Regions from separate parts of the Homo sapiens genome. Here regions 2, 3 and 4 are each linked to region 1. Evidence: promoter capture Hi-C in 16 types of primary human blood cells and fetal thymus (Javierre and others, 2016). All regions are on one chromosome and are shown on one strand. The core of a region is centred on a gene start or on the middle of the fragment in contact, and the rest is flanking DNA. Distances in the headings are between cores, read along the strand shown.

Region 1 (5,089 bases), core at 1,657-4,156:
TCCCGAGTAGCTGGGACTACAGGCTCACACCAGGGTGCCACGCTCATTCAACATTTATTGAGCACCTACTGTGTGCCAGGCACTGTTCTAGACCTGATCCTGCCCTCATGAGCTCAGACCCAAGGAGGAAGGCAGGCAGGATCCAGAAGTCTTACTTAATCTGTTTTTTGTTTTTTGTTTTTTTTTCTGACAGAGTCTTGCTCTGTCACCCAAACTGGAGTGCAGTGGTGTGATCTTGGCTCACTGCAACCACCGCCTCCCGGGTTTAAGCAATTCTTCTGCCTCAGCCTCCCGGGTAGCTGGGATTACAGGCGCCTGCCACCACGCCCGACTAATTTTTGTATTTTTAGTAGACATGGGGTTTCACCATGTTGGCCAGGCTGGTCTCGAACTCCTGACCTCAAGTGATCCGCCTGCCTCGGCCTCCCAAAGTGCTAGGATTACAGGCGTGAGCCACTGTGCCCAGCTTCTCCTTTAATCTTGAGTGCCTTTCCCTAGTCTCTCTCTGTCCGAGGACAGAATTTTAGTCTTCACAGTCTGAAATCACCCGCGGGGATTTGTATGTTTATACAGGGATCCTGCTCCCTCACTAGCCAGGAGCAGGGACCCCTACTGGGTTTGTTGGTTGCTGCTGCCCCAAAGCCTGGTCACAGTGCCCAGTACATCGTAAGTAGACACTTGGGAAAGAGATGTGAAATGAGCTAATAAATAAAATGATGGCGCAAAAGCAGGCTCCGCGAGCACGATTTCGCGGAATCCTAGGTGTGTGTCATTACCCACTTTGCAGAGGAGGAAATTGAGACTCAGGAAGGCAAAGCCGCCTGCCGGGCCCCACCGCAGCTCAGTGGTATGTGGCTATGGGATGTAGCAGAAGAAGCAAAGGTAGCCCCAAAAAGCGTTCCCAATTCCCGCAAACCTCCCCCCCACACACACACACAGGCAGGAGAGACATAGCAGGGTTTGCACCGATGGGGGTGGGATGGGGACCGGGGACAGAGGGACAGTGCAAAGCAACTTAGGGGTCTCTCTCCTCAGTCCCCAGGGCTGGAGGTGCTGTGCTGGCAGATTAGGAAATGCTTGGGGTTGATGGGGAAGCTTCCGGCGCTCTATCCCCAGTTCTGGAAGCTGAGGCTCCGGGAACCCTGTTTTGCTGAAGCTGGGCAGCTCCAGTCTCCAGAGCCAGGAAGAGACCCCCGCGCCTATCCGGGAATCCCCGACATCTGGGATTCTCTCCAAACACCCCCAGGCTGATGACGGGGCCGAATCCCTAAAGGGCATACGGTGGGGGTGGGGGTACGACTTTCCTGGGGAGCCGGGGAACCCCCTACCTTCCTGGCCCCCTCCCACTGTGGCACCGTGTCCCCCTCCCCACCGCAGCTCGCAGCCCCAAGCTTACCTTGCGGGGGGCCTGGGGAGGGGATGCCCCGCCCTCCCTGGCCTGGGGGGCGGGAGGGGACGGGGGTGTCCAGACCCTTTGTTTGCTGGTGTGTGTGTGTATGTGTGTGTGCGATTGTGAGAGCCGCCGGGGTGTGGGTCCGTGCGCGCGCGTGCCCGGGCCGTGACGGCCACTGATGTGCTGGACTGCCAGGGTGGAGGGGAAGAGGGAGGGGTAGGAGATGGGGACTCCCCCGCCCCTGCCCGCCCACTCGCGGGTTTGAATGAAGCGCGAGGGGGAAGGGCGGCAGCGGGAGGACGTTTTTGTCCGATGGCCCTTCCCGCTCCATGCACCGGGGAATCCTCCCCCTTCTGGAGAACTTCGCTCGCTCTCTCCAGGCACTGCCTCCAACGTCGGCTCCAGGGGAGACTAGGAAGAGGCGCCCCTCACCGGAGTGGCTGGAGCTCCTCCTATCCAGCCTGACCCCCGAGGGAGCACCCTTTAATCTGAGATAATCCTGGCCCAAGGCTGCAACACGGCCTATTATCCTGGTATCAAAGCGTGGATTGGGATGCATGGAAGTGTGAGGTGGTCGAGGCCCTGCATGCTTAGAGTAATGGAGTCCTTAGAGCCCCGGCGGAGGAAGCGTACCCCAAGACGAACGGGGAGGGGCTATGCGTGGCCCCAGACTGTGACGACAAGGAAAGCCCCCTTCCACCCCTCCACGATTCCCCCCACCAAGCGCGGGGCCAGGAATACGCGCCGTGGGCTAGACTCTAGCGACACCCAGCGGCCAGCGGGGTGGGGAGCCGAGACCCGTTTTGAGGGGGTCCGGGTGATTCCAAAGTGTGTGTGTGTGTGTGTGTGCGTGTGTGTGTGTGTGTGTGTGTGTGTGCGCGCGCGCGCTCGCGCGAGTCCTCGCTGCGAATGGCAGGAGGTGGAAGACAAGGAGAAGGCTGTTGCCGAGGCGGGGAAACCCCAGCTCCCAAGGCAGGGCCACAGTCTCCCCTCCACGTTTAACCCTGCAAGGGGAGGGCCATACCACCCCCGATTTAGACACCCCCAGGGCAGGTCCAGTCCTCCTCGGGCTGAGAAAGTCCGAGGAGTCATCAGGCGCCCCTCTCCAGCGCAGGCTTAGGTCCCCGTTTACGAAGGGCAGGGGGAGGGCCTTCCCGCCGTGTCCCTACCCCTTGCAGACGTCACTGCGGCGTGGCTGAGGGGACAGTCCTCTCAGTCTCATCAACCGTCCCCTCCCTGCCACCCCAAACGCCCACCGTGGAGCGGCGGGAGATGAGGGGGGCTCGGAGTTGAAGCGCGCACTCATATGCCCCCAGGAGACCTAGCGGAGCCCCAGCGCCCGATGACGCGGAGTCTCTGCGGGAACTCCAGGGGGCCGGAACACTTACGCAGGGCCCTTTAAGGCTGGCTGGGTAGCTAGTGCCGCTGCCGCGGTTACTAGGGATGTGACGTCACACAGGGCGGGGTTTCCCGCGCTCGGCGGAAGCGGAAGGGGCGGGGCTCCGCGCTCCTAGTCTCCACTGCTGCCGCCGTCGCCGCCACCCGAGCCGGAGCGGGCTGGGCCGCCAAGGCAAGATGGTGGACTACAGCGTGTGGGACCACATTGAGGTGTCTGATGATGAAGACGAGACGCACCCCAACATCGACACGGCCAGTCTCTTCCGCTGGCGGCATCAGGTAAGGCGCGCGCGCCCATCCCTTTCCCCACTCCCGGACCCCGCTTCGGAGTTGTGATCCCCGATACTGCCCAGGGACCCCGCTGTTCACACCTAGGATTCTCACCCCCCCAGTCTGGATTTTCAGGAGCTTCGATTCAACTCCGGGACCCCAGTACCATTGGGACCCTGAGTCCCTGCCCTGGATCTCCGCTCCCCCACTCCCTGCTCCGATTTTTGCGTGGGATTCCCTATTCACCCCCTAGAACTTCTTCATAGTCTGGAGTCCCCTAGACGAGTCTTGGGGGTTCTCCCTAATTCTGTTCGGCAGTTAACATTTATACCCAGAACTCTGCCTCAAAGTTTGGACCCCAAATTCTTCTAGATGATCCCTCATCCTATTCGGGTATTCACTTCCTATCTGGGATCTCCCATCGCCCCCCCACCTCCGTAGTCTGGACCCCCAATACTTTGGTCTGTCCCGGGATCTACTTTCCGGGATCTTGATCCGGGGTTCCCATTCAGATCCGGAGTCGCCACTCCTTTTCTAAACGGAACAAGGAACTCTGTGCTACTCTGATATTCCTGTCCCTGCCCACACCCAGGACCCCCTTCCTAGAGTGTAGAACCGTCCCCCTTCAGGATCCTTAGTCTCACCGAGTACTTGGGTTTTGGAATCTGGTTCCCCTCTGGATCTAACTACCAGCTCCAACCCGATAGAGCCTCACATTCCAGCCTCTCCTTTGGCCTCCGGTAGACCCATTTCCCATTATACCAGGAAATCCTGCCCACGTGGCTTCCGGCCTAGCCAGAGCCCCTGCTCCTACTTGGTATTGCAGACCCTGTCACCACCCACTTCCCAGACTGGCTTCCTGTATGAGCCTCAGCCAGCATTGGAAACTCTCCCCTAACTCAAGCCCAGAACCCCAAACCCACCCCACCTTTTGTCCCCAGCCTGTTAGCTACTCTGTGACCCAAATTGTCCCTGCTCTTATCCAGGGACTCTCCTGGTCTGATTCTAAATTCACCACCCCTTCTTCTATCTGACCACAACAGAGGTCCCGAATCCAGACCCCAGAATCCCAAGCCTGGGTGATCCATGTCCCACCACCCTCTCAGTGCTCACGAGCCAATGGGATGACTAAGACTTAAAGGTTTAACCTCCTGCTACCCCAAATGAGTGTGCCTGCATTACATACCAGTGTCTGTTGTATTCCTTTTTTTTTTTTTTTTTTTTTTTTTGAGACGAAGTTTCCTTCTTGTCGCCCAGGCTGGAGTGCAGTGGCACAATCTTGGCTCACTGCAACCTCTGCCTCCCGGGTTCAAGTGATTCTCCTGCCTCAGCCTCCTGAGTAGCTGGGATTACAGGCATGATGCACCACCATGCCTGGCTAATTTTGTATTTTTGGTAGAGACAGGGTTTCTCCATGTTGGTCAGGCTGGTCTTGAACTTCCGACCTCAGTTGATCCACCCACCTCGGCCTCCCAAAGTGCTGGGATTACAGGCGTGAGCCACCGCACCCAGCCATGTTGTGCTCTTAAACGAAGGGCATATACCTCTCAGAACCTTCTAGTGAGGATCTCTTACCCCACCCTCCCATAGGGCAATTCCCCATCATTTATCCAGAAACAACTAGAAGGTCCCTTTCCCATCCTTCCAGAATACTCTGGAATACGGCATTAGTCTCTTCATCTAGCTCCCAGTCCCACTTCCAGACCTATTCCTTAAATCCTGAGTCTCCTGGGTAGTGTACCTGCCAAGCAAGCCACTGGAGTGTGGGAAGAAAGTTCTAGCGCTTCTATTTCTTGCCGTGTGTAACATTTTATTATGAAATATTTAAGACTTCCTCAAAGCTCCAAAGACTATTCTTGGGAAGACCTATTTCTGTCACATAAAGAGGTTAATCTTTACTACTGTGGAGAATGGTTTGGTCCTGCCGGGTGGGAGGGCCCCCCTCCTGCAGCGTAGTGTACCTGCCACACCCTCCTCCCTCTGGCACAGAGCTTTTCCTGTCCTGCCGCTGAGAACCCCGGTGGTTGT
Region 2 (5,089 bases), core at 1,027-3,526, 320 kb after region 1:
GGTTTTGTTTGTTTTTGTTTGTTTGAGACGGAGAATCGCTCTGTTGCCCAGGCTGGAGTGCAGTGGTGCGATCTCGGCTCACTGCAAGCTCCGCCTCCCGGGTTCACGCCATTCTCCTGCCTCAGCCTCCTGAGTAGCTGGGACTACAGGGGCCTGCCAGCACAACTGGCTAATTTTTTTTTTCGTATTTTTAGTATAGATGGGGTTTCACCATGTTAGCCAGGATGGTCTCGATCTCCTGACCTCATGATCCGCCCGCCTTGGCCTCCCAAAGTGCTGGGATTACAGGCGTGAGCCACCGCGCCCGGCATTTTTTTTTTTTTTTTTTTTTTGAGACAGAGTTTCGCTCTTGTTGCCCAGGCTGGAGTGCAATGGTGTGATCTCAGCTCACTGCAACCTCCGCCTCCTGGGTTCAAGTGATTCTCCTGCCTCAGCCTCCCGAGTAGCTGGGATTACAGGCATGCGCCACCATGCCCAGCTAATTTTGTATTTTTTAGTAGAGACGGGTTTCTCCATGTTGGTCAGGCTGGTCTCAAACTCCCGACCTCAGGTGATCCGCCCGCCTCGGCCTCCCAAAATGTTGGGATTGCAGGCGTGAGCCACCGCGCCTGGCCTATTATACTCTTTAACAGCCCTACACTAAGCCTTTCAGGCAGGCTAAATCCACAGCGTTCCCATCACCAAAGCTGTCAAAGAAGCAAAGTAGCCATGATGCACCTGTGCTTCAAAGCCATTCATTCATTCATTCATTCATTCATTCATTCATTCATTCAACACAAGGGTTCCATTCCCCTGCCTCTCTCTCCTCCCCAATCCTCTGCTCATCCTAGCCTTTCTAGAGACTGCCACTAACAACCCTTCCCCACCTCCCAGCCTTTGCTTATGCCATTCCCTCCCCCACCCCAAGACCCCTGCCTTTCTTTCCCTTTCCCCTCCCAGGGCTCACTCCTCCCCATCCTTTAAGACTTGGTACCTCCTCCTCCAGTAAGCCTTCTCTGACCTCTGCGCCCCCGCTATGATGGCAATAATCCTGGCTCCTTTCATTGCTTAGTTTCATGGCTCTCTCCCCCATTGAATACAATCAGCACATAATGAGCGCCTACTGTTTGCAGGCTCCCTGGCCGGACAAATGATGGAGAGGTGAAAAAGTGAGATTGGGTGATGAGTTATGGACCGACAATGCCTGGTCCCTCCTGTTTCAGAGGGGGGTCAGTCACCATGAACGGGTCGGGTCCCCCCTCTTGCTCTCCCTCCCGTGACCCGGTCCTTTGCGAGGGGAGGGGATAGGTTACCTGGGCATCCAGATCGTTACTTAGTTCTTGGCCATCTTTTTGCTTTACCCCTGCGGGGGAGAGTGCATATAAGGGAAGGGCCCTTGAAGGGTCTGTGGGAGTTCCAGGCCACCCAGAGCCGCGACGCAGAGCCTCCCCAAGGCTGGGACCTCCGGGGGAGGTGATCTCAACGCCTCTCCCTAGACCACGCCCCCTCGGCGCTCCCACGCGCGGTCCCCGCACCAGGCCCGGGACCCCTGCAGCCTCACCGTACACGATGGAGCGCCCCACTCCCGTGTGGTCGCTGCCGAATTTCCTCATCAGAGCCCCCGCCTTCTTGGAGGATACCTTCCCATGAAACTTCTCCCGGAGGCGCCGGACGCTCTTCTCCAGCTGGGATGGAGACAGGGGGGTTCCGGTGGGGGAAGGGGAAACGGGATCATCCCTCCCCCATCTCTAGGCACCGTTCTCCCGGCCCGAACTTGACCCTTGGTTTTGGCCTCCGCCGCCCCCCCCCCGCCTTTCATCCCTTTACGGCATTTCCTGGAAAAAGCCAAAGTCCCCACAGGGCGTTGGGGGAAGGCGCGGACTGGGGCGAGCGTCCCAGCCTAAGGTGTGGGGGGGCGGCCAGGTTATCTCTGGCCTCTGACCTTTGACCCTGCAGCCCCCGCTTTTCCTCGGGGAGGCCTCATTTCGCTCTGGGGAAACGTGGGAGTCACTTTCCTTTTCAAGGGGGGCGAGCGCCAGGCAGGGGTAAGGATCTGGGGTTCTAGGATGGGGGTCCCCAGGAACTGCGAAGCCCCCTCCGCGCCTCCCGGCCGCTCCTCGGGGTCTGTCGCGGCTGACCCCGGCCCAGCCGTAGCCATCGCTTACCTCCACACCTTCCTGAGACATGGTGGCGGCGGCGCAGTTCCCCGCGAGGGTCCGCACTGCGCGGCTCAGCCGCCCCCCTACCTGGGTGCGCCCGTCGGTCCAGCAGCCGCGCAGGGCAGGGGGCGGTGCCTCGGGGCCGGCTCCGCCCTTCCTCCCCGGCCCCTGTTTCGCTTTCGATTCAGGGGGGACCCGGCGCGCTGGCTCCGCCCTGGCTCCGCCTCTGCTCTTGCGCCCCAAACCCAGGCGGGCGCCCCGGGTCTGCACCCTGCGGCGGAGCGCGCAGACCTCGGACGGGGGAGGCGGCGCGGCCTCTGCAGTCGGTCACATGTCCCCACGCTGCGCGGGGTCCGCGTCTTCACGTCCCTCGTGGGGGCGGGGCCGCATCAGAAGGCCGCGGCGAGGCCCCGCGCCCCCCCACCCAGCGCGCGCTCCCCCAGTTCATCACCCTCCTCTCTGTTCTCCCTCCTTCCCCGGGAATCTGGCGCTCATGAGGACCTGGGCCCTTTTCCTGCCCTGAGTCTCTGTCCTAGCTACGGTCACCTCTCTCAACCTCAGTTTACCCCTCTGTGAAATGGGGAGAATCCTGGTGTCTACACCATGGAGTGGAGTATGTGCCAAGATTCCCGAGTGGATCGCGTAATAGCGCCTGGCTTGCAGTAGGCGTTCAACTAGTCACTGGGCCACCTGCTGTGTGCCCTTGATAGGGGCAGGCAGTGTGTGTGTGGTTGGGGGGAGCGGTGCTTGAGAAAAATACAGATTCTTGGTCTCTAGTAGCCCGGTAGAATCCGGCTGTCTCAGGGATCCAGGGAATCTGCAATGGTTAAGAACCCCGTGGGACGGACAATTCTAACCCAGTACAGGGCACATCAGGGAGCCCTTAGGTGGTGGGGCTCTGGCCCAGCCTGGGGACACAGAGATGGCAACTTCATTGGAGGAGGGGATGCTTTGTAGAGTCACTGAAATTGGAGGTCTTAGCTAGGGGAGGAATAGAGTGGGGAGATGAGGCAGCCGTGCAGAGCCCCCAAAGCAAGACTAAGTCTGGGGTTTTTGGGCAATGGCTTCTCAAGCCCAGCACTCTTGACACTTTGGGCGGCCTAGTTCTTTGTGTGGGGGACTGTCCTGTGTATTGGGGGACATTTAACACCATCCCTGGCCTCCACCCACTAGATGCCAGTGGTTCCCTACTCTCCCTGTTGTGACTACCAAAAACGTCTCCAGAGACTGCCGGATACTCTCTGAGGAGCAAAATAGCATTGTGTTCAACGACTCCAAATTTTTTTCTCCATTGCACACCCCTATAGGTAAAAGTGTTAAAGTTACACCCCCAGATGGATATTTATTCATTTATTTATTTTTTGAGACAAGATCTTGCTCTGTTGCCCAGGCTGGAGTGCAGTGGTTTGATGGTGGCTCACTGCAGCCTCTAACTCCTGGGCTCAAACGATCCTCCTGCCTCAGCCTGCTAAGTAGCTGGGACTACTGGCATATGCCACTATGCCTGGTTAATTTTCTATTTTTTTTGTAGAGACGGGGTCTCACTATGTTGCCCAGGCTGGTCTCAAACTCCTGGCCTCAAAGATGGATATTATTTATAAATTATATACAAATACAATTATATCAATATATTCTGTTAACTGTTATATAAAATATTGATAGATAAATGGAGCTGGGCATGATGGTTCACACCTGTAATGCTAGCACTTTGGGAGGTCAAGGTGGGAGAATCACTGGAGGTCAGGAGTTCAAAACCAGCCTGGGCAACATAGCAAGACCTTGTCTTTAAAAAAAGAAAAAAGAAAAGGAAAAAGTTATTTTTAAAAGACTAAAAAACAAACAATAAAACCCCCCAAATCTAGATATTCTAAAGTTTTTCCAGTTGAACCCCAAAGCTTTGTTTATAGGGTGTATGTACTCCACTCTGGAGACTACTGTATTTGCAAACTACAAGCAGTTCATGATTCCTTGTGGCTGAATGGTGGAATCCTAGGCAGGATGGGGGCTGGAAACTGCACAGAAGACCTGGGATTTTATCCTGAGGGAAGTGGCGAGGTTTGGAGTGGATCGCCTGTCATAGTTGCCAGTTACTAATCTATTTGCCCAGTGCAGAGGGAGGTCATAGCTATGTCCCATTCACTGGCCGAGATGGGCACTGAGTGGGCAGGAAACAGGTAAGAGTCTGAGCTAGCCCTGACATAAATCAGATCTGGTAGGTTTTTTGTTTTTTGATTTTTTTTTTTAGCGCAGAATATGCAGACCAAAGGTCTGTTAGGTTATAATCACCGTGGCAACCACATAGAGCGTGTACTCTGTTCCCAATGCTGTTCCAGGCACTGTGGACATGACAGCAAACAAAACAAAGATCCCTGCCCTCGTAGAGCTAGCATTTTTTTAAATTTGTTTTAAGAGACGGGGTCTCACTCTGTCACCCAGGCTGGCGTGCAGTGGCACAATCATAGCTCCGCTGCAGCCTCAACCTCCTGAGCTCAAGCAATCCTCCGGCCTTGGCCTTCTGAGTAGCTGGGACTGCAGGTATGTGCCACCACATCCGGCTAATTTGTTTGTTATTTTGTTGTTGTTTTGTTTGGGTTTTGTTTTTGTTTTGAGACAGAGTCTTGCTCTGTCACCCAGGTTGCAGTGCAGTGGCACGATCTCGGCTCGCTGCAACCTCTGCCTCCCGGGTTCAGGCAATTCTCCTGCCTCAGCCTCCCGAGTAGTTGGGACTACATGCATGTGCCACCACTCCCGGCTAATTTTTATACTTTTTTGTAGAGCTGGGGGCGGGGGGGTCTCACTATGTTGCCCAGGCTGGTCTTGAACCCCTGGGCTTAAGTGATCCTGTTGCCTTGGCCTCCCAAAATGCTGGGATTTCAGGTGTGAGTCACTGCACCTGGTCCATCCTTATGATTTCATGTGGTCTTTGTAGCTTAGGACTTGAGAAATGGCTT
Region 3 (5,089 bases), core at 758-3,257, 300 kb after region 1:
TCTTTTTAAAAATTTTTTTTAATCAATGAGATATCCTTTATTTATGAAAGCATAGTTCCAATGCAGAAGTCAAGCTTTATGGTTATATATTAGGATAGGTTCAGATCCAATATGACAATGTTTAGCACTAACTTTAACATGTTAAAGCTCTGATTCCTGAATGTTTTTCTCACTTAATATATTCTCTCCAATGACAAGCTGGTGTGCTTGGCTTCTTATGCTGAAAAATATATGCCTGAATTCTATAACAAGCTATTAACAAAATCATGAATAGTTAATTAAATAAGTGCCAACACTACATGGAACTTACTGGCCACCAACTCAGAACCATAAAACTACACACACACACACACACACACACACACACCACACACACAAACAAAACAAAAAAAACACCAAAGAAAGATAGCTATCACTGTACATATGAATACTGTCCAGGATATCAGATCAATTATCAAATCCAAGGTCTCTGGTGTTTTGTCTCACAGTGTTGAATATATGAATGCTTCTCTATTATACTGACTTGTATTATTTTCAACAAATAATTATGTGGACTCAAAATCTTACATTTTTATTTCTTTTCTTTTTTTTTTTTTTTTTTTTGAGACAGAGTCTTACTCTGTCGCCCAGGCTGGAGTGCAGTGGCTCACTGCAACCTCCGCCCCCCGGGTTCAAGCGATTCTCCTGCCTCAGCCTCCTGAGTAGCTGGGATTACAGGCATGGGCCACCACACCCGGCAAATTTTTGTATTTTTAGTAGAGACGGGGTTTCACCATCTTGGCCAGGCTGGTCTCGAATTGCTGACCTCGTGATCTGCCCACCTTGGCCTCCCAAAGTGCTGGGATTACAGGCGTGAGCCACCGCGCCCAGCCTTACATTTTTATTTCTAATTATAAAATCCAGATTAATCCAAAAAACATAAATCACATGTAACTGAGGTAGGGTTTTCACTTTAAGAATATATTGTTTCTATCACAATTTAAAAATTTACAGCTGTGTCTTTTATATTTATTTTTTATTTTAATTAATTAATTCCTCACTTTATTATTATTTATTTATTATTTATTTATTTATTTATTTATTTATTTTTGAGATGGAATTTCAGTCTTGTCGCCCAGGCTGGAGTGCATGCGGTTGCTCGATCTCGGCTTACTGCAACCTCCACCTCCTGGCTTCAAGCAATTCTCCTGCCTCAGCCTCCCGCGTAGCTGGGATTACTGGCGCATGCCACCATGCCCAGCTAATTTTTGTATTGTTAGTAGAGACGGGGTTTTAGCATGTTGGCAAGGATGGTTTCGAACTCCTGACCTCAGGTAATCCACCTGCCCCGGCCTCCCAAAGTGCTGGCTTTCAGGCATGAGCCACTGCACCCAGACTTTCGCTGGGTGTTAATGTGTGCGTGCGTGCAAATGTGTGTGTGTGTGTTTGTGTCCACTCTGTTATGTGCCCATATGTGTGTGACAGCTGTGGTGTACATGTGTGAGTTTCTGAGTCAAGCTACCTTGGCTGGCTCCCATCCTGGTCTCTTTTTGGCTGTGTGACCGCAGGCAAGTTGCTTACCCTCTCTGAGCCTCAGTTTTCCCTGCTGTAAAATGAGGGTACATACAGAATCCAGCTCAGGTTGTAAGGATCAAATACGTAAAAGGTGTGGAGAGTTTAGAGCCAAGCCCTACACACGGTAAGTCCCCAGTGATGTTCCTCTTTCTATGTGTGGTGTGTGCGTGTCTGGGGCTGGGATCACGCCTGGCTGCCCCAGGGCCTGCAGCCTCCCACGCTCTGGGCTCTGCAGTGGAGGGTGTGGGGGAAAGGGAGGGATGTCCAGGACACTGACCTGTGTTATCAGGCTCTGGTGGCCTGGGCAGGGGGGTCTGGCAATTCTGTCTCATTTCTCATTCGGGAAATGCTAAATATTTATAGTTTGGGCTCCTGGGCCCAGCATCCCAGCTCCACTCCCAGGCTCTGGGGGCTGGGGAGTGGTTACCAAGCCTCCTCTCTCCTTCTGTCCCACTGCCCTCTCCCCGTCTCTAGCTCAGAGGCCCCACTGGACCCTCGGCTCTTCCTTGGACTTCTTGTGTGTTCTGTGAGCTTCGCTGGATTCAGGGTCTTGGGCATCAGAGGTGAGAGGGTGGGAAGGTAGGTGGAGGTTGATTCTCACTGTGGGGAAACTCCGACCACAGCTTGGCTTGGGGGCCCCCAGGCCACCCCGCCACCCCAGGCTGAGAGTGTAAAAGGCAGCGGGTGTTATACACACGTCCCAGTTCTGGGGGGTTGCTCAATCTCTGTTGTGGGGGGTGGGGCATGTCAGTGATCGGGGACAAAGAGAGGACCCTACCCCCGGATCCTTGTGAGCCCCTGCTTGGTGTCTGAGTCCAGAAGTAAATGTGGCCATCTCCAGCCCAGAACCCTCCATGGCTCCTGCCTGACTCAGAGTAAAACCCAAGTCCTCCTCCGGGCCCACAGGACCCTTCACACTTTGCCCTGACACTTCTTACCTCCTCCTGCTTCCCCCTTCTCTCTTCCGGCCTCATAGACATTTCTGCCATTTCTTTTTTTTTTTTTTTTTTTTTTTGAGACAGAGTCTCGCTCTGTCACCCAGGCTGGAGTGCAGTGGCGCGATCTCAGCTCACTGCAAGCTCCGCCTTCCGGGTTCACGCCATTCTCCTGCCTCAGTCTCTGGAGTGGCTGGGGCTACAGGCGCTCGCCACCATGCCCGGCTAATTTTTTTTTTTTTTTTTGTATTTTTAGTAGAGACGGAATTTCACTGTGTTAGCCAGGATGGTCTCGATCTCCTGACCCCGTGATCCACCTGCCTTGGCCTCCCAAGTGCTGGGATTACAGGCGTGAGCCACCGCACCTGGCCTTTTTTTTTTTTTTTTTTTTGAGCCTTGCTCTGTCGCCCAGGTTGGAGTGCAATGGCGCAATCTCTGCTCACTGCAACATCGGCCTCCTGAGTTCAAGTGACTCTCCCACCTCAGCCTCCTGAGTAGTAGCTGGGATTACAGGCATGCATTACCATGCCCAGCTAATTTTTGTATTTTTAGTAGAGACGGGGTTTCACCATGTTGGCCAGGCTGGTCTTGAACTCTCGACCTCAGGTGATCCTCCCGCCTCGGCCTCCCAAAGTGCTGGGATTACAGGCGTGAGCCACCGTGCCTGGCCCCTTTCTGCCATTTCTTGGGTGCAATCTCCGGGCCTTTGCACCTGCTGTTCTCTCTGCCTGGAATGCTCTTCCTCTTCTCTCTCTTCCATCAGGTCTTTGTGAAAGTGTCCCTTATTCTTTATTTTATTTTTATTTTTATATTTAGTAGAAATGGACTTTCACCATATTGGCCAGGCTGGTCTCAAACTCCTAGGCTCAAGCAATCCTCCTGCCTTGGCCTCCCAAAGTGCTGAAATTACAGGCATGAGGCACTGTTCCAGTCAAGTGTCACTTCTTCTGTGAGGCCTTTCCTGACTCCTCTATTTTATTTTTTTTTGAGACAGAGTCTCGCTCTATTGCCCAGGCTGGAGTGCAGTGGTGCAATCATGGCTCACTGCAACCTCTGCCTTCCGGGTTCAAGTGATTCTTGTGTCTCAGCCTCCTGAGTAGCTGAGACTACAGGCGCGTGCCACTACGCCTGGCTAATTTTTGTATTTTCAGTAGAGACAGGGTTTCGCCACGTTAGCCAAGCTGGTCTCAAACTCCTGGCCTCAAGTGATCCTCCCACCTCAGCCTCCCAAAGTGCTGGGATTACAGGCACCTCGGCCTCCCAAAGTGCTGGGATTACAGGCACCTCGGCCTCCCAAAGTGCTGGGATTACAGGCGTGAGTCAGCACACCCAGTCCTGACTCCTCTATTAAATGTCCCCCACCTCCGGGACTGTCACCCCCTTGCCTGTTCCATTTTTCTCCTAAGCACGATTACCCTCTGACCTACCTAGCGGCTGTTTGACTTATTTCTCTGTTCTCCCAACTTGAATGTCAGCTCTGCAAGGGCAGGAATTTTGTCTGTTTGGGTTAAGGCTGTGTCCTCATTGCCTAAAACAGCATCCCTGGCACACAATAGGCACTCAAGGTGTCTGTGGTTGAATGCATGAATGAGGCAATGTGTGTGTGAGATGGAGACCCTCGGGATATGTGCTTGTGCAGGCATCAGGAAGCATAGGTTTAGGGCCAGTGTGGTTGCTCACATCTGTAATTTCAGCACTTTGGGAGTCCAAGGTGGGAGGATCACTTGAGCCTGGGAGTTTGAGACTAGCCTGGGCAACACAGTGAGACCCCCTCCCTACAAAAAAGTAGCTGGGCATGGTGGTGCGCACCTGTAGTTCCAACCACTCAGGAGGCTGAGGCAGGAGGACCACTTGTGTGCAGGAATTGGAGGCTACAGTGAGCTATGATTGCTCCACTGCACTCCAGCCTGGGCAACAGAGCACGACTCTCTCTTTTTTTTCTTTTTTTTTGAGATGGAGTCTCACCCAGGTTGCCTAGGCTAGAAGGCAGTGGTGCGGTCTCAGCTCACTGCAACCTCTGCCAGGTTCAAGCCGTTCTTCTGCCTCAGCCTCCCGAGTAGCTGGGATTACAGGCATGCGCCACCACGCCCAGCTAATTTTTTGTACTTTTAGTAGAGACGGGATTTCACCTGTTGATCAGGCACCCTGTCTCTACTAAAAATACAAAAATTAGCTGGGTGTGGTGGCGCATGCCTGTAATCCCAGCTTCTTGGGAGGCTGAGGCACAAGAATCACTTGAACCCGGGAGGTGGAGGTTGCAGTGAGCTGAGATTGCAGAGCGAGACTCCGTCTAAAAAAAAAAAAAAGAGGGCGTGGGGGAGAGAGAGAGAGAGAGAGAGAGAAAGAGAGAAAGAGAGAGAGAGAGAGGGAGAGACAGAGAGAGAGAGAGCTTGTATATGGAGGTACAACCCTAAATCTGCTGTTCAAGGAGCGCTGCTGAGACTTGAATAAGGATAGGAAGGGAATGATGTTAAGTTGTGAACAATGTTCCAGGCTGCAAAAACAGCAGGTACAAAGGACCTGAGGCTGGAACTTGCTTCGTGTGAGGAAGGGCCTGGGAGGAGGGCAGAAGGGGATATGGCAGATAGCACAAGTTTTTT
Region 4 (5,089 bases), core at 812-3,311, 260 kb before region 1:
GCAAAATTTAAACACCCCAAGGTTAAACTTTAAAACCTAAGGGTGCTTGAGCGAGGTGGCTCACGCCTGTAATCCCAGCACTTTGGGAGGCCAAGGTGGGTGGATCACTTGAGGTCAGGAGTTAGAGACTAGCTGGGCTAACATGGAGAAACCACATCTCTCCTAAAAATACAAAAATTAGACAGATGTGGTGGCGTGCACCTGTCATCCCAGCTACTAGGGAGGCTGAGGCAGAACAGCGTGAAACCGGGAGGCAGAGGTTGCAGTGAGCTGAGATTGCGCCACTGCACTCCTGCGTGGCAAATAGAGTCTCCACCTCAAAAAAAATAAATGAATAAATAAATAAAACCGGCCAGGTGCGGTGGCTCATGCCTGTAATCCCAGCACTTTGGGAGGCCAAGGCAGGCAGATCACGAGGTCAAGAAATCGAGACCATCCTGGCTAACACTGTGAAACCCCATCTTTACTAAAAATACAAAAAATTAGCCGGGTGTGGTGGCACATGCCTGTTGTCTCAGCTACTCAGGAGGCTGAGGCAGAAGAATCACTTGAACCCGGGAGGCAGAGGTTGCAGTGAGCTGAGATCGCGCCACTGCACTCCACCCTGGGTGACAGAGCGAGACTCCGTCTCAATAAATAAATAAATAAAACCTAGGGGTCACCAGGCGCGGTGGCTCACGCCTGTAATCCCAACACTTTAGGGAGGCCGAGGCAGAGGCATCACCTGAGGTCGCGAGTTCAAGATCAGCCTGGCCAACATGGTGAAACCCTGTCTCTATTAAATATACAAAAAATGAGTCGGGTGTGGTAGCACATGCTTGTAATCCTAGCTATTCAGGAGGCTGAGGCCTGAGAATTGCTTGAACCTGGGAGGCGGAGGTTACGGTGAGTCGAGATCACACCATTGCACTCCAGCCTGGGTGACAAGAGCAAAACTCTGTCTCATTTAAAACAAAACAAAACAAAAAACCCCTAGGAGTCAAATGATGCCCCTGCAAAGCCCAGCAACAGGACATGGTGAGGTCAAAGGCTTCATGTCAGGGTAGGGATGCAGGAGGGAAGGAGTGTGAGGGGGCATGGGATGAAAAGGGCAGAAAGCCAGTCCCTGGGCTCAGTGGCTCAACATGCCTGAGACTCACACCATGGGGCAAGCCACTCGATCGATCGCCCAAGGAAAGCTTCTGCACAGACTTGGACCTGAAACCCCACTTGCCCAGCCACTAGCTTCCTTCTTGCATTAGCAACACGGAAGAGGCCCCTCTACTCTCGGCAGGACTAGGAAAATGAAACAAGTCAACCTACTTGAAGCATGCAGCACATATCCCATAGACCTAACAATTGGTACTAGATCCTACTGTTGAAAAAAATCTGCCTTCCCAGGCTGCAATGAGGGCCAGGCGTGAGTGATGTGTGTGCAAAGGGCATCCTCTCCTCCATCACCCATGTCTCTTCACCGAGCCAGAGTCAAGCTCCACAGGGCCTTCTTTCGCCACTGATTCTGCCAAGCCTGTTCCCTTGGCTATGGTTTCCCTGGATAGTCGCAACGACACTGGGAATCTTGTTCATGAAGTGAATCCTTATGAAGGAATTATAGTTACTTCAGTTAGGGGAATAATACTGTGGTTGTGCTGGAAAGAACCAACTTTAACTGTTCCACACATATTTAAGACAAATTTATGGCTAAAATTATATACCTGGTATTTGCTCTGAAATATACCAGGGAGCAGAAAGTAGAGAAGGATGAGGCCGGGCGTGGTGGCTCACGCCTGTAATCCCAGCACTTTGGGAGGCCAAGGCGGGCGGATCACGAAGTCAGGAGATCGAGACCATCCTGGCTAACACGGTGAAACCTCGTCTCTACTAAAAATACAAAAAATTAGCCAGGCATGGTGGTGGGTGCCTGTAGTCCCAGCTATAGGGAGGCTGAGGCAGGAGAATGGCATGATCCCGGGAGGCAGAGCTTGCAGTGAGTGAGCCGAGATCGTGCCACTGCACTCCAGCCTGGGCGACAGAGCAAGACTCCGTCTCCAAAAAAAAAAAAAAAGGAAAGTAGAGAAGGATGAAACAAGACTGTAGAACACTGACAGCTGTTGAAGCTGGGTGATGGATACTGTAATTCTTTTGTGCATGTTTTAAAAATTCCATAATAGATTTTTTGTTCTTAATTATTTGTAGAGATGGGTTGCTGCCATGTTGCGTGGGCTGGTCTCAAACTCCTGGGCTCAAGTGATCCTCCCAGTTCAGTCTCCCAAAGTGCTGGGATTACAGGTGTGAGCCACGATGCAAAGCCAACACTTTTTGTTTTTTTGAGAGAGTCTTGCTCTGTCGCCCAGGCTGGAATGCAGTGGTGTGATCTCGGCTCACTGTAATCTCTGCCTGCCAGTTTCAGGCAATTCTCCTGTCTCAGCCTCCCTAGTAGCTGGGACTACAGGTGTGTGTCGCCACACCCGGCGAATTTTTGTATTTTTAGTAGGGACAGGGTTTCACTATGTTCACCAGGCTGGTCTTGAACTCCTTGACCTCCTTGAACTGGGGAGGAGACTGCCATGAGCCGAGATTGCACCACTGAACTCCAGCCTACCTGACACAGCAAGAGAATGTCTCGAAATAAATAAATAAACAAAAATATAACAACAACAAAAACCTACTGAAAGCAGCTCCCGGGAGAAGTGGACCGTAATCTGCAGCAGGGGATATACCAAGTGAGCCTGGATCCTACCGGAGCGCCAGAAAGCAACAAAGCACTGGTGACTATAGCAGTCTTGTCCTGAGGACATCGGAGCTGACTTGTGAGGTGTCCCACTGGCTACATTTGGAACAAATTCAAAAAGAATCATGCTTCCACCTACATAAAGTTCTAGAATAAGCGAAACTAATCAGTGATGGGACAGCCTCTGGGGAACGGTGGTAGGGATCACATGGGAAGGGGCCCTCCCAAGCTTTCTGAGATGAAGGTTACATTCTCCCTCCTGACAAGAGTTGGGTATATGCAGTGGCCAGAATTCACTGACTGGTATACTAAAGATCTGTGCATTATTTAAAAAGAAAAAAGAGGCTGGGCATGGTGGCTCACCACGTTGGGAGCAGCACTTGTCAGGAGTTCAAGACCAGCCTGAGTGAATCTACAAAAAAAATTTTTAAAGAAAAAAATAAAAACCTAGCTGCAAATAAATACTAAATTCTTGTTAGTATGTAGAGGGAAGATTAGAACTTTCTGTTATTTAGTTGGAAATGCATCATAAAAATAAAGTGAGGCAGGAGCAGTGGCTCACGCCTGTTATCACAGCACTTTGGGAGGCCAAGGCACTTGAGCACAGTAGTTCGAGGCCAACTTGGGCAACATAATCAGACCTGGTCTCCAAAAAAATTTTTTTTTAAATTAGCCAGGTAGGCAGGGCGCGGTGGCTCATGCCTGGAATCCCAGCACTTTGGGAGGCTGAGGCAGGTGGATCACCTGAGGTCGGGAGTTTGAGACCAGCCTAACCAACACGGCAAAACCCCGTCTCTATTAAAAATACAAAATTAGCTGGGCATTGGTGGCACGTGCCTGTAGTCCCAGCTACTCGGGAGGCTGAGGCAGGAGAATCGCTTGAACCCAGGAGGCGGAGGTTGCAGTGAGCCGAGATCACACCATTGCACTCCAGCCTGGGCAACAAGAGCGAAACTCCTTCTTAAAAAAAAAGAAAAAAAAAATTAGCCAGGTATGGTGGCACCTGCCGTTAATTTCAGCTACTCAGGAGGCTGAGGGAGGAGGATCACTTGAGCCCAGGAGATGGAGGCTGCAGTAAGCCAAGACTGTGCTACTGCACTCCAGCCTGGGCAAAAAAAGTGTGTGAGACCCTGACCCCCGCCACCCCAAAAAAGAACTGTAAATAAATATTAAATTCTAGTTAATAATATGTAGAGGGAAGACTTGCAACTTCCTGCTACTTAGTTTGAAATGCATCATCAAAATAAAGTGGCCAGGCGCAGTGGCTCACACCTGTAATACCAACACTTTGGGAGGCCAAAGGTGGGTGGATCACCTGAGGTCAGGAGTTCGAGACCAGCCTGACCAACATGGTGAAACCCTGTCTCTACTAAAAATACAAAAATTAGCTGGGCGTAGTGGAGTGCACCTGTAATCCCAGCTACCCAGGAGGCTAAGGCAGAAGAATCGTTGGAACCAGGGAGGCTGAGGCTGCAGTGAGCTGAGATCGCGCCATTGCACTCCAGCCTGGGCGACAGAGCAAGACTCTGTCTCAAAATATAAAAATAAAATAAAAAACAAAAATAAAATTTAAAAAAATATATACAAAAATATATATACATATATTTGGCCAGGCATAGTGGTTCACGCCTATAACCCCAACACTTTGGGAGGCTGAGACGCGAGGACTGCTTAAGCACAGGAGTTTGAGATGGCACTGAGCTATGACTGTACCACTGCACTCCAGCCTGGGCAACAAAAGTGTAACCCTGTCTCTGATCAATCAATAAAGTGAAAAGTGAAAAGAATTATAAGTGGATGGACAAATATGTGAAACACAAGCAGTTAAATGCCCACAGCAAAACCTAGGCTGTGCATACAGGTAGGTGTTCATTAAATTTTTTATTTTATTATTATTATATTTTGAAGTGCAGTTTAACTCTTGTTGCCCAGGCTGGAGTGCAACAGCACGATCTCGGTTCACTGCAACCTCTGCCTCCCAGGTTCAAGAGACTGTCCTGCCTCAGCCTCCCAAGTAGCTGGGATTACAGACATGCACCACCACACCTGGCTAATTTTTTTTTGTATTTTTAGTAGAGACGGGGTTTCATCACATTTGTCAGGCTGGTCTCGAACTCCTGACCTCAAGTGATCTGCCTGCCTCGGCCTCCCAAAGTGCTGGAATTACAAAGGCGTTGAGCCACTGCGCCCAGCTTAAATTTTTTATTATTATTATTTTTGAAACGGACTCTCACTGTGTTGCCCAGGCTGGAGCGGAGTGGCGCGATCTCGGCTCACTGCAACCTCCGCCTCCCAGGTTCAAGTGATTCTCCTGCCTCAGCTTCCCGGATAGCTGGGATTACAGGCACCTACCACCATGCCAGGCTAACTTTTGTATTT

What was found. Contacts are between HindIII fragments. The CHiCAGO score rates a contact against its expected background, and 5 or more counts as called.
Region 2: the fragment with the promoter of SHFL here is called in contact with the fragment with the promoter of CDC37 in region 1 in 11 of 17 cell types (total CD8 T cells, neutrophils, erythroblasts and 8 more); the score reaches 9.0 in total CD8 T cells.
Region 3: the fragment with the promoter of ANGPTL6 here is called in contact with the fragment with the promoter of CDC37 in region 1 in 12 of 17 cell types (total CD8 T cells, neutrophils, non-activated CD4 T cells and 9 more); the score reaches 8.7 in total CD8 T cells.
Region 4: a fragment that was not itself captured here is called in contact with the fragment with the promoter of CDC37 in region 1 in 11 of 17 cell types (activated CD4 T cells, total CD8 T cells, M1 macrophages and 8 more); the score reaches 8.1 in activated CD4 T cells.

What each region holds. Positions count from the first base shown.
Region 1 is chr19:10,401,359-10,406,447 of GRCh38, reverse strand. It overlaps CDC37 (cell division cycle 37, HSP90 cochaperone), which reads left to right and starts at 2,906. Exons shown (of 8, transcript NM_007065.4): 1 at 2,906-3,070. The coding sequence starts at 2,969. It overlaps MIR1181 (microRNA 1181), which reads left to right and starts at 2,910; the gene lies at 2,910-2,990. RefSeq lists silencers at 1,371-1,420, 3,131-3,190 and an enhancer at 2,381-2,730. The HindIII fragment of the contact is 3,760 bases long and covers 1,394-5,089 here.
Region 2 is chr19:10,083,504-10,088,592 of GRCh38, reverse strand. SHFL (shiftless antiviral inhibitor of ribosomal frameshifting) reads right to left here and starts at 2,276. Exons shown (of 8, transcript NM_018381.4): 1 at 2,145-2,276; 2 at 1,541-1,664; 3 at 1,293-1,342. The coding sequence starts at 2,165. RefSeq lists silencers at 2,008-2,287, 2,358-2,577. The HindIII fragment of the contact is 8,670 bases long and covers 1-4,035 here.
Region 3 is chr19:10,099,596-10,104,684 of GRCh38, reverse strand. ANGPTL6 (angiopoietin like 6) reads left to right here and starts at 2,007. Exons shown (of 6, transcript NM_031917.3): 1 at 2,007-2,117. RefSeq lists enhancers at 1,828-1,877, 1,948-1,997. The HindIII fragment of the contact is 11,381 bases long and covers 77-5,089 here.
Region 4 is chr19:10,664,209-10,669,297 of GRCh38, reverse strand. The region is part of intron 1 of ILF3 (interleukin enhancer binding factor 3); the gene reads right to left. Among named protein-coding and RNA genes, the nearest start is that of ILF3, 12 kb to the right of the region's middle. The HindIII fragment of the contact is 1,761 bases long and covers 1,181-2,941 here.